3 separate regions of the Homo sapiens genome follow, and all the other regions are linked to region 2. Evidence: promoter capture Hi-C in 16 types of primary human blood cells and fetal thymus (Javierre and others, 2016). All regions are on one chromosome and are shown on one strand. The core of a region is centred on a gene start or on the middle of the fragment in contact, and the rest is flanking DNA. Distances in the headings are between cores, read along the strand shown. Region 1 overlaps DERA (deoxyribose-phosphate aldolase). Region 2 holds the start of WBP11 (WW domain binding protein 11). Region 3 overlaps STRAP (serine/threonine kinase receptor associated protein).

The links. The method cuts DNA at HindIII sites, captures the fragments that hold promoters and counts their contacts. A CHiCAGO score of 5 or more calls a contact.
Region 1: a fragment that was not itself captured here is called in contact with the fragment with the promoter of WBP11 in region 2 in 1 of 17 cell types (activated CD4 T cells); the score reaches 5.1 in activated CD4 T cells.
Region 3: a contact is called between a fragment that was not itself captured here and the fragment with the promoter of WBP11 in region 2, in 7 of 17 cell types (activated CD4 T cells, total CD4 T cells, naive CD8 T cells and 4 more). The highest score is 12.4, in activated CD4 T cells.

The regions. Positions count from the first base shown.
Region 1 is chr12:15,921,177-15,925,132 of GRCh38, forward strand. The region is part of intron 1 of DERA (deoxyribose-phosphate aldolase); the gene reads left to right. Among named protein-coding and RNA genes, the nearest start is that of DERA, 12 kb to the left of the region's middle. The HindIII fragment of the contact is 768 bases long and covers 988-1,755 here.
Region 2 is chr12:14,802,071-14,806,075 of GRCh38, forward strand. WBP11 (WW domain binding protein 11) reads right to left here and starts at 1,408. Exons shown (of 12, transcript NM_016312.3): 1 at 1,282-1,408. C12orf60 (chromosome 12 open reading frame 60) reads left to right here and starts at 1,600. Exons shown (of 2, transcript NM_175874.4): 1 at 1,600-1,681. It overlaps SMCO3 (single-pass membrane protein with coiled-coil domains 3), which reads right to left. Exons shown (of 2, transcript NM_001013698.2): 2 at 2,580-4,005. The coding sequence ends at 3,933. RefSeq lists an enhancer at 1,704-1,943. The HindIII fragment of the contact is 2,157 bases long and covers 934-3,090 here.
Region 3 is chr12:15,903,007-15,906,630 of GRCh38, forward strand. It overlaps STRAP (serine/threonine kinase receptor associated protein), which reads left to right. Exons shown (of 10, transcript NM_007178.4): 10 at 1-472. Among named protein-coding and RNA genes, the nearest start is that of DERA, 6.5 kb to the right of the region's middle. The HindIII fragment of the contact is 6,674 bases long and covers 1-3,624 here.

The sequences.
Region 1 (3,956 bases), core at 122-2,621, 1.1 Mb after region 2:
GTGAAGGCATGTTGGAAACATCGGGGTGACGTAGTGAAGTAAGTGCATATATCTGAAAAGTGCACTGTGTCTGAAAAGGGACATACTTTATTCAAATGATGCCAGTGGTTAGTGGAAGGATATAATCAGTGTTCTTGATGATTTTGGAAATTGACATAAGGATATCTTCTCTGTGGTCTCAGAGACTGGAGGAGATAGACCTCTAATCCCATTAGCTGAAGATGTGAGATTAACCAGAAAGAGTAATTCCGTTAATTTTCTGGTAGAAAAAAACATATTCATGTTTCCTTGAGATTATGGATTAAGTTTGTATTTTGGACTCAGGGAAGAAAGTAGGTTGTAACAATTCCTATTGTATTTGGTGAAGGAGCTCAAGATCTGTATATTGTGGTATTTTGAGGGAGATTATTTTTTCTTCAGTAAGTAGCAAGAAACTTAAGTGCTTCTAATAATTTTCCAAAGAGGCCAGGCATGGTGGCTCATGCCTGTAATCCCAGCATTTTGGGAATCTGAGGTGGGCAGATCATCTGAGTTCAGGCATTCGAGACCAGCCTGGTCAACATGGTGAAACTTTGTTTCTGCTAGAAATACATAAAAAAATTAACCGGGCTTGGTGGCGAGCGCCTGTAATCCCAGCTACTCGGGAGACTGAGGTAGGAGAATCGCTTGAACCCAGGAGGCAGAGGTTGCAGTGAGCCGAGATCACGCCATTGCACTCCAGCCTGGGTGACGAGCAAAACTCCATCTCAGATAATAATAATAATAATAAATAATTTTCCAAGGAATAAACAAGAAATGTATTTTAGTTTTGTGTCTTTATAAGCAGAGTTTTCCTTTTTTAACTTTTGACTTCTTAGGAGGCAATCATTATTATAATCTCAAAGTCATTCATTCAGCATGTGTATGTTGAGTACTGTGAACTCATCACTGTCCATGTCTTTGTGAAAGCTATAAGAGCAATAGAACTTAGGAGCCCTGCCCTTGAGAAGCTTACCTTCATCAAATTTTAAAATATCCCCGGGGAAGTACGCTGCCTTATTCTTGTCAAGGAAAGCAAACTGTGGCCATCATCAGGATATGCACTTGCCCTGTTTGAAATGATTAGCCAGTCAACATTGTATTATTAACCTTTAGATAATCATTTAAAAATGCTGTGGGAAATCTCTTGAGCTAGGCAAAGATCTCATATGGATTTTTATTAGTGAAAACATTTCCATAGATCTGTCTCCAGCAAGAAAAAAATCATAATTTCAGTCTGCAGATGAATGCTATATTTGACTGAGTGTTGCATTAAACTACTAATATAGAGAAATTTTGGGACACAGTGATTAGCATGTAGAGTCTAGAAAATAGGCATTGATGCTGATAATACTGAAGACCGTCTGAAAGAAAAGCATCCTAGAGAAAGTTCAGTTGTTTTGGTGCTTGACAGTAGTTGTTTTTACAGGCCAAGTTGAAATTAGGTATCCTGTGGAAAGAATGTCAGGGAATGTGTACCTGCCCATTTGTGCTTCATTGAATGCACTGTGGTTTATCTGGGAAGGATACAGGATTGGGACCCAGGCACTTTAGTTGTAGACCTGATAGCATCTAGCTGTGGAACCTTGCGGGGTGGGGAGGGGCTTCAGTACATTGGCTTGTACTTTCCAAGTCTGTAAAACAGACACACGAGAATGTAGGTTCATCAGTTGTAAGGTTTATACCACTCTGGTGGGGGATGTTGATAATGGGGGAGGCTATGCATGTGTGGGGCAAAGCTTGTGTGGGAAATCTCTGTACCTTCTGTTCAGTTTTGCTGTGAGTCTGAAACTGCTCTAAAAAATAGTGGTTTTTGTTTTTGCTTTTTTTTTTTTTTTTTTTTTTTGAGACGGAGTCTCGCTCTGTCGCCCAGGCTGGAGTGCAGTGGCGCGATCTCGGCTCACTGCAAGCTCCGCCTCCCGGGTTCACGCCATTCTCCTGCCTCAGCCTCCCAAGTAGCTGGGACTACAGGCGCCCGCCACTACGCCCGGCTAATTTTTTGTATTTTTAGTAGAGACGGGGTTTCACCGTTTTAGCCGGGATGGTCTCGATCTCCTGACCTCGTGATCCGCCCGCCTCGGCCTCCCAAAGTGCTGGGATTACAGGCGTGAGCCACCGCGCCCGGCCTGTTTTTGCTTTTAAAAAACAGACACAGATTTCTGAAAACCCTTCTGGTTCTGAACTTCATTGAGTCTTCTGATCATTCCTTAAAATGACCATTTGGTGGAATTGTAGGTCTAGAATGTTCCCTGTGCTTGCAGTTCAGACCTTTTCCTTCCTTCTCTGGCCAGCATAATCTTCTCTGGCTTTCAAGGCTCTGAATTCCAGTGATCAGTTTACATTTTCAGCCCTATCTCTGATGACTAGACACATTATATTTTCTCTTTCTCTAGATCTTAAGTCAAGGTCTCATGAATGTATACCTTGACTTAAAAATTCTTATGTGAACAGAGCCTTTTATTTTGTATTCATTCCTCTGCATGGCAGAATATTGGTTATAGTCTTCCTTTTTTTTTTTTTCATAAAAATATCTTGTGAATTCATCTCTTCCTCTCTTCTATTCCCTAGGCTTGGCTCATTCTATCACACATCTGAATCACAATGGTGGCTTCATAGCTGGTTTCTTTACCTCTGGGCTTTCTCATCTGCCCCTGGAAAATCCATATTTGGTTAAACTTTTTCTTGTTGTTTTTTCAAATAGAACACATTTATTCATCTCCAATTTGCTTTTCTGATTATTTGGTTTCTTCAGAATGTTCTTTCATTTCATGAAAAGTATATAATCTTAAACAAATTACTGTATTCTCAGTCTTTAGTTGAAGAAAATAATTGAGTTAGTGAGTAACAGCCAAATAATTCTATCCAGAAATATTTGAATGATGTTAGCCAGGTAAGAATTCTAAAGACTGAAAATAGAGTTGTCTATAAAATTCTATTAAAATTATATATGTGGTTGGGTTAGGTGGCTTATGCCTGTAATCCTAACTCTTTGGGATGCTGCAGTGGGAGGATCGCTTGAGCCCAGGAGTTTGAGATTAGCCTGGGCAATATAGCAGACTCCAACAAAAAGTTTCAAAATTAGCTGGGTGTGGTGGTATGCCGCTATGGTCACAGCTACCTTGGAAACTGAGGCGGGACAAGGTTACAGTGATGATCATACTGCTGTACTGTAGCCTGGGTGACAGAGCAATACCCTGTTTCTAAAATTAAAATGTATATATATAAAAGTTAAATAATTGAACTCAGTAAATATATTTTTCACTGTAGAGATTACAAATACAATATTCTAGAAATAACTTGGGTTTTTGAATTATAGAGATCTGTGTTTCCATCTTAGCCCTGACAAGTATGGTGTGACCTTGAACAAGTAATTTAATATCTGAGCTTCAGCTGTTTCCTTATCTGTAAAATGGACCTAATGGCTACCTGGTAGAGTTAGTGAGACTATTAAGTGAGATATATAATTAAATTACCTTTAACTTGATGAGTGATCAATAAATGGTAGCCATTATTGTAATTCCAATCGATCCTATATTGTGAAAATACTTGGCTTTCACCATTTCACCTCCTCCCTGAAGGCTTACTTGGTCTCCTCTGCTAGACTTTTCAACACTGATCTGCTAAGATACTTTGCCTTCTTTTATGGTACCTACCAATTTCAGCCTTGTGTTTTTATGTTCTAATGCTGCCTTATTAATAGGCTGCTTGAGGGTAGGATCTGTGCTTATCGGGCGTCTGTATCACTTATGTCACCTTGAACAGTACTTTTCATAATGTGAAGACTTGTTTTCATCAGTGTTTGTTGAATGAATAAGGAAGCATTGCTCCCCTTGTCTGGGAAGTTAGAATGGCCTTTTACTGCCTGGTGTACCAAGCCCAGACACTTCATTCTCTCTCTCTTTGAAGATCCTGGGTCATTTGGCCCCATTCCTGTTACC
Region 2 (4,005 bases), core at 158-2,657:
AGCTCCCCAAAACTTAAATATTAAGACACATATTTTTCTTACTAAGACCTGACTCCCAATATATATTTCTTAAGGTAATTAAAGGGAATACTTATTTTTGTTTGAGGAAAAAATATTTTGTAAGCTAAAACTTTTATTAACACAGTACCCTATTACATGACTTCTTCCTCTTATTCCAAAATAATGGGGCTTAATTTTTTGAAGCGCAGTCTTTCCAGTAATAAAGGCGGACAAATTTGCTTCCTTTTGCAAGTAGACACTTTTTAAAGGTAAGAAAGGGAAGATTTTGTCAGCCCAGTTTATTACAGTTAATGTCTCTTTCACCAAGTGTCCAACTGCCCCGAAAGCCAGATGTTTCAGAAAGCCAGATGTTTCACAGCTGTTCTGGTGGCAATTACTTCAAGACAGCGGTATCAAAGGCTCTGATTTTTAGCTTCCTCATCTAAAAAATGGGGACATCAATTACTTTATAACAAAGCTCTGATGATACAATGAGATTACAAATAAAATATCCTGTGATGTTTGACTCACTACTTAACTAAAATCTTTATAATGGATCCATATTCCTGGCCTAGCTACCATACACCCTGTCAAGTGGTTTCCTTCTAAGAAAAACTGGGGATGGGGGGGTTAGGGGGGTGGGAGAGCAGCAGGGAGTAGGAGGTAGGGAAGGAGGAAAACAAGCAAAATCAGTACATATACAAGCTCTCCCATCTTTGATTGCCTGCGTTTTTTGTGCTTTCCTTTCTCAAGTTTCCTCAGGCTCATGTTCTGAATCTCCTCCCCCACAAATGAAACACAACGGATACGAATTACAGAGAATTTTACGGAAGACACTGGAGCTTAAGTCTGCAGATTAGTTTTTTGTCTACAAGCGGAGGCGACTGGAAAATCAAGCCAAATAAGCGTTGGATAACTCTAAACAGCCAAAGAAGCTTCAATGGGATAGGGTCCAGGTTCACCAAAGGAGGCAACACCAGCAACTGACGAAACCATAGCGACGGCTGACCGACCATGACTCGAGGTACAAGACGTCAAACCTAAGGCTACTAATCAACGTGCGTAAGAAGCGGCCCCAACCGACCCGGGCGATGCCAACCGCGCAACCACTGGTCGCCGCGCCACCCCAGGCCCAGGAATAGCCCAGTCCGCAACAGGGAGACCTCAACCAGGGAGAGGAGGAGCGGGGCAAAGGGGCTGGGTGTCCCCCAAGCCGCTGCGCGGGACGTGGAAGGGACGAAAGAGGTGAGGAAGAGTAGTAAATCAATTCAATACACTCACACTTCTGCTGTGCTCCCAGGACTACGAGAAGCGGGTAGGGGGCGACTCCCGGCCTCTTTCACTTCGTAAAGGCCTTCAACTGGGTCTCTCGGTCAACCCCTCAGCTACCGCCATCTTGAAACCTCGCGCCCCTCCGCACTCCTCACGTCATTTCCCATTCCTCTGTCCCGCCTTCTCTTAGCGCCGCTTGACCCTGGAACCATAGAGAATACCCAAGAATTCCAGGACCAGAGTCTCTTCCGGTTCCATACAATACTCAATTGGTTGGTTGTCGGCTAAGAGCCCGCCTCATTGCGCTCATCTAGTACAATAGGAATTAGAAGAAGATAGCTGCTAACTGAGTGGCTGACGGTCCTGTCTCTCGAGTTGGAGGCATCTTGACTTAGTTGCTGGGAGCCTGGTACGTTGAGCCGTCCGAGAACGGTACATTCTGCAGATAAAGAAGCGTTCTGCGTTTTCTGTCTTTTGGAATTACCTTAGTTTTTGCATTTTTCTGTTTCTTATGACCCAAGCAGGTGCGATCCTTTAGGGGTGTCTCCGTGTGTAAACGAATACCCAGATAACATTTGCCACTGAGTTTAATCCGCTTTGTAAGCATCAGGTTATCCCATGTGAGCGCCTAGTACGTGTGGAAATTTAATAGACAGGCAGAACAGAACGTTTGTAGACCACCTGAACAAATAAATTAGCACCCGTATTAGAGTCGCAGATTGCTTATATGGGCGGTGATTTATTATTTGTTAGTAGTGTTTTGAAGAAGAAATACGGGGATACATATGCAGTCGGTTTTAAGTTATATGAGTGGCAAGGTTGATATATATTGGCTATATTCCCGACTGGTCTTTTCACCAGCCAAAAGTCCTCTATGATGTCACTCTACGTACGGGATTCTTCACTTAACTCTAGCCTTCGCCCTTTCCCTACCTTCTATCCCCTCTTTCCGTGAGTCAGCCCCCACTTATTTCCCTTAAAGGTAAGTTTAAACATTTAAAAAACTATCTTAGAGGATACGCTTGGTTATTTCTAATCTTAACCTGACTATCCCATGTAGGAAGGCTATTCTTACCACCAGTTATAAATATTTCAAAATATTGATGGAGATACATACTAATTTTTAGCAGAATCTTTAAACTGCCCTTGAAGGTATAAGATCGGTCCTATACCTAAACTTACCTTTGTGTTAGGAAATTCTTGATTTGATTTTAGACTGAATTTGAGTGTCAGAAAGCAATGACGAGATATTGTAGGTTAAAGCTGATAAACCAGGTAGTACATAAAAAAGAAAATAATCTTGAACTGCGAAGGTGAGCTAAGTTGTAATGTTTTGCAACTAGTTTTTTTTCTTTCCTAACACATTAGTGATCATAGTTTTGCAACTCGTTTTGAAAAACAATGCAAGAAGAGAAAGAGAAAACAGTGTATGTTGGAAATATTAAAGTCTTTCATGTAGCTAAAATTTTATATGTAGCTACTATTTTTAAGATATGCTGAGCAGTTTTTATTTCAATACATTTCTTGTACTTGGATGGGAGAATCAACTATAACAAACACAGTCTGGCATCAACAGCATATTAATAATTTTGTCAGTATAGACTAAAAGAGTCCTCATGGGAATTATTGGTTGGCAAAGGATTTAGAAAACAAACACATCTGCAGAGATTCAGCGGAACCATTAATAGGCTTCCATAGCCTTTGGCGTTTTCTAAAATCAGGTAATTAGTGAAATGGCCCACCTAATGCGTCATGTAGCAAAGGCAGCTGCCTCCTTTTTGCTAGTGTTGAAAATGAAATTATATTCTTTTTTCTGAAAGCTTATAATAAATTATGACTTTCTTTTAAATGACAAATGCTTTGAGTAGTGACCTTCTATTCTGCATCCTAAATGCAATATGTGTAGCTGTGTTTTGCTTTCTTGTCTTCTAAATGTTTCAGTGTTTGAACATTCACTTGAGCGATATTTAATTATCACAGTTGGTCAGGGTTGATTGCAGTGACTGAAACAGGACCTTGATGTTTTTAGTTTTGATTTTTACCATTTTCAAATCCATCCGGTTTACATTGTGTAATCAGTAGACGTTTACAGATCAGCTTCCTGTCCTAATTGAAGCACATTGTTACAAACCATTTTTCAGTCTCTTCTAGTTTACAGAAAACCAGATTTACTCTGATGGTCAAAAATATGGTAGTATTTCTGTCTCATTCGAAGGCCTAGAGTTTGTGTCTAGGCAGAAGTTACTGAGTATGTCCCCTTATAACTAAATGATGTTTGAAGCTGGTGGTAGAAATGAAAGTCTCTGCATTCAATGTGAAATTTAAGAATTTTACTGAAATTAGAAAAGAGAAAAGTAACCCCTATACTTGCTACTCTACGATAGCATTTACCCCAATGTTGATCTGGTAGAGCAGGGTGTGAAAACATCCAGGGAGAAAATTTTTTTACCTCACAGGGTCTAGCATCAGCTGATCCAGGCATTGTTGACTCAAAACTCATCTAGTCATCTAGTCTTGGCATCTCCAGTTTCCCTCTCCAAATTGTTTATCTTATTTAAGTCCATATTGGAAGCCTATAGAAAATGAACCTAATCAAAGAAGCAAACACTGTTACTGAAAAGGAAGCAGAAAAACACTTCAGTGGCAAATAAAACGGCTGTTCATTTCATTTGGTGTTTCACTGTATTGATGACCTCAGTAATGGCATGATTATATTTTTCTGAGGCTGATTTG
Region 3 (3,624 bases), core at 397-2,896, 1.1 Mb after region 2:
AACTGACTAAAACAAGCAAGCAGAGAAAAGCATCAGCCTTCCAGAGTTACTGTCTGCTTAAGGCAGAAACAGCAGTAAATAATGAGGAAAATGAATTAGCTCCAGTGCTGGAACAACTAACTAACTTGGTGTTACCTGTAAGTGAAAACTCAAGTGTCAGATGAAGGGAGGTGGAGTTATCCTCTTATAGTACAGTGGCCTGTTATCTTTTTAATGAATATATACAAGCCAACATCCAATTTCTATTATTACAATTAGGGTTCTTGTAGCTGTTTATGTTAATATGGAGAAGAAAACTATATTGGCTGATTTTTTCTGATCTTAAAGCAGAATGCCTTTTCTTTTTTTGCTTCAGTTGTAAAGAAGAGGGAATACATGATAAAGTAACTGGTTTGATTTCTCGTTCATTGTACACTGCCTCTGAACATCTAATTGTTTTTAGTTGTCTAAATAAAATGCCTCTAAAACAAAACAATGTTTGGTTTTTTTGGGGAAAAACTACTAATGTGAGTTTTATAAGTGGAAATAGCCAGAAGGTTTTTCTGTATCATAACCATAGCAAAAGGTAAGCCAATTAATCTGTAGTAAACATTATTTTATAATATTGAGATTCAGTTACTTGTCCTGAATTTTTGAAATTCTTATGTCCTTTACTAGTGTTTCATTTACCTTCTCTATTCCCAGATTGGATAGAAGTGCTTGACATGCCTTTTTAAACAATTATTTAAATAATACATGCTAGTTATAAGAAAAAAAAAATCAACTGAAATTTAGCAGTAAGCTGAAAGATCACTTAAAATCCTACCACTCCTCAAAAAACTATTAAAATCAAATGACCATGAATGCATGTTAGGGCATCTCTGTATGTATATACAGATAGATAGAATGGATTTTATAAAAATGGGATTACTATAGTCCTGCAGTGGTTTAAGAAGTATGGAATTTTACCTCATTCTTTAAATTTGGGTGGCATTCAGAAAGCCCTTCTAAAACCTTCTAATAAATTGGATCAGCTGAGTTTAGACTTGTAATTTATTTTTTAAAACAAAGAGGGCATATTAAATGAGTAATTTGGAAATACTTCAGATGAATAAATAACATCTCTGCAACTTCCTTTTTCTCCTGATCAGTCCTGTGAGTGACCCTTGATAACTTTTCTTAAAAGCAATATGAGTCAACCAAAGAATAAGATTAATTTTTGAGGATTTGTGATAACCAGAAGAAAGCACTGTAGGCTGTGACAACCTGTGAGGGCCGAGAGAAATACAGGGGAGCCAACTGGTGATCCATATTGGCTTTCATAGAGTGGTAGTATTTTTGTGTCAGCTTGTTACATGCCTGAACCTCTGGATTGCAGCAGTGTTGTCATTGTACCAGCAGTTGCTCAGACTCTAATCAGAGTCTGATTTACCCTCAATAAAGTTCTGTACGCATCAGATTGGAATCATGAAGTTGCTTGTTATTTATGAACCAAGGGAATTTCTCCTTAGGTTTCATAAAAGTCTAATGACCCTGTACAGGTACAGTCCTTTGTGTATTGGTTTCCTGCTGCTGCTGTAACAAGTGACCACAAATGTGTACCTTAAGACAACACAAATTTATTATCTTACGGTTAGGGAGGTCAGAAGTCCACAGTAGGTCTTGCTGGGCTTAAATTAAGGTGTCAGCAGAGCTGCAAGCCTTCTAGAGGCTCTACAGGACAATCTGTTCCCTTGCCTTTTCTAGCTTCTAGAAGCCAGCTGCATTCCCTGGCTCATGGTTCCTTCCTCTTTCTTTACGTCCAGCAGTGTCCGTTTTTTAATCTCTTATTCTGAATGTGACTCTATCTCCTGCTGCCTTCTTTTATTTATAAGGAGGTTTGTAATTATATCGGGCTCACCTGAATAATCCAGGATAATCTTTCCAATTCAAGATCTTCAATTTAATCACATCTGCAAAAGTCCCTTTTGCCATATAGGATGACATATTCACAGGTTCTGGGGATTGGGAAGTAGACATCTTTGTGGGGGCCATTAGTTATTAGTCTGCTTACCACACTTGGTAATGGTAGAATCCTACAGTAGAATTTAACAAAACTTTCAAGAGTAGTGGTCACTTTTCTGTTCTCATCTTAACTAAACCTTCAGCAGCATTCAATAATCATCCACTTCCTGGTTTTTGATTTTTTTTTTTAGCTTCTATGAAACTACACTCCTGGGTCTTTTTTTTTTTTTTTTTGAGATGGAGTCTCGCTCTGTCACCCAGGCTGGAGTGCAATGGTGCGATCTCAGCTTACTGCAACCTCTGCCTCCCAGGTTCAAGCGATTCTCCTGCCTCAGCCTCCTGAGTAGCTGGGACTACAGGCATACACCACCACGCCCAGCTAATTTTTGTATTTTTAGTAGAGACGGGGTTTTGCCATGTTGGCCAGGATGGTCTTGATCTCCTGACCTCGTGATCCACCCGCCTCGGCTTCCCGAAGTGCTGGGATTACAGATGTGAGCCACCGTGCCCGGCAGGGTCTTTTTATACCTTACTGACTCTTGTATTTGCCAGTTCCTCCTTTTTTTTCTTGACTTCAGATCTGGGCTGCACTTTCTAGCTCTGTTGTCTAAAGAAAAATATCTGCTGTTACTCAAGATCTTCTGATAGGTTCTACATCGTTGTTTATATGTTGTCTACCTGGTCTGCCTCTTTGAGCACCAGAGTTTGACAGCATAGTTGAGTGCTCCATCTTAACCTTTCATAAGACTCAGACTTACCTATCGTAAGTCTTGATTTTTTAAATCAAACCTGTTTCCCTCAACCTTTCCCCATTCCACTAACTGGTACTAACTTATACTTACTTGTTCAAACTAAAAGACATGTAAATCCTTGACTGTGTTCTCTCTCATGCCCATGTCTATATGCAAGTCCTGTGGGCTCTTCGAAGCTGTGCTTTGCCTCCTCTCCATTGTTACCACCCTAGGCAGGCTACCTTTATTTCTCAGTTCCTTCATAACTGCTCCCTCTTGCCCCTACTCATTCGTCTGGCTCTTATCCCATCCATACTCCATACAGTAGGAAAGGTAATTGCTTTAGGATTTGAAGAGATGAGGTGATTTCCTTGTTAAGATCTGTAATGGCTTCCCATTATATGAAATTCTTATGATTAGTTGGCTCTTGATACCTTTTGTGACTTTTTCATATTTCCCTTGCTTGCCCTGCTCTAGCCACAGTGGCCTCATTTCTGTCTCAAGTCCTTTTCACTTGATATTTCTGCTACTTGGTTCACTCTTACCTAATGTTTTGCTTGGCTGGATCCTTTCTTTGCATTCAGTTCTCCAGCTGGTCTGTATTCCATCTCTTGTCACTTCTTACTGAGTCCTATTTTATTCATACTTGTTAACGCTATTTGAAATTTTGTTGCATGTTTTTCAGCTTCATTGATAGTCTCCCTTTACCTGGAAAGGTGACTGGTATGTTGTGAGTGCTCAATAGTTGTTGAAACAAGTCCCTCACCAAATCTTTTTAATCTCTCCCAGTAATCCATGTCAGACCAGGAAGACTGTTTTCCAGTTATCTCATATGTAGCAGGCCATCCTCCACTGAAGAGTGAGACATGGCAGGCATGGCAGACATGGCAAGACAAAGCTCTTACCTCTC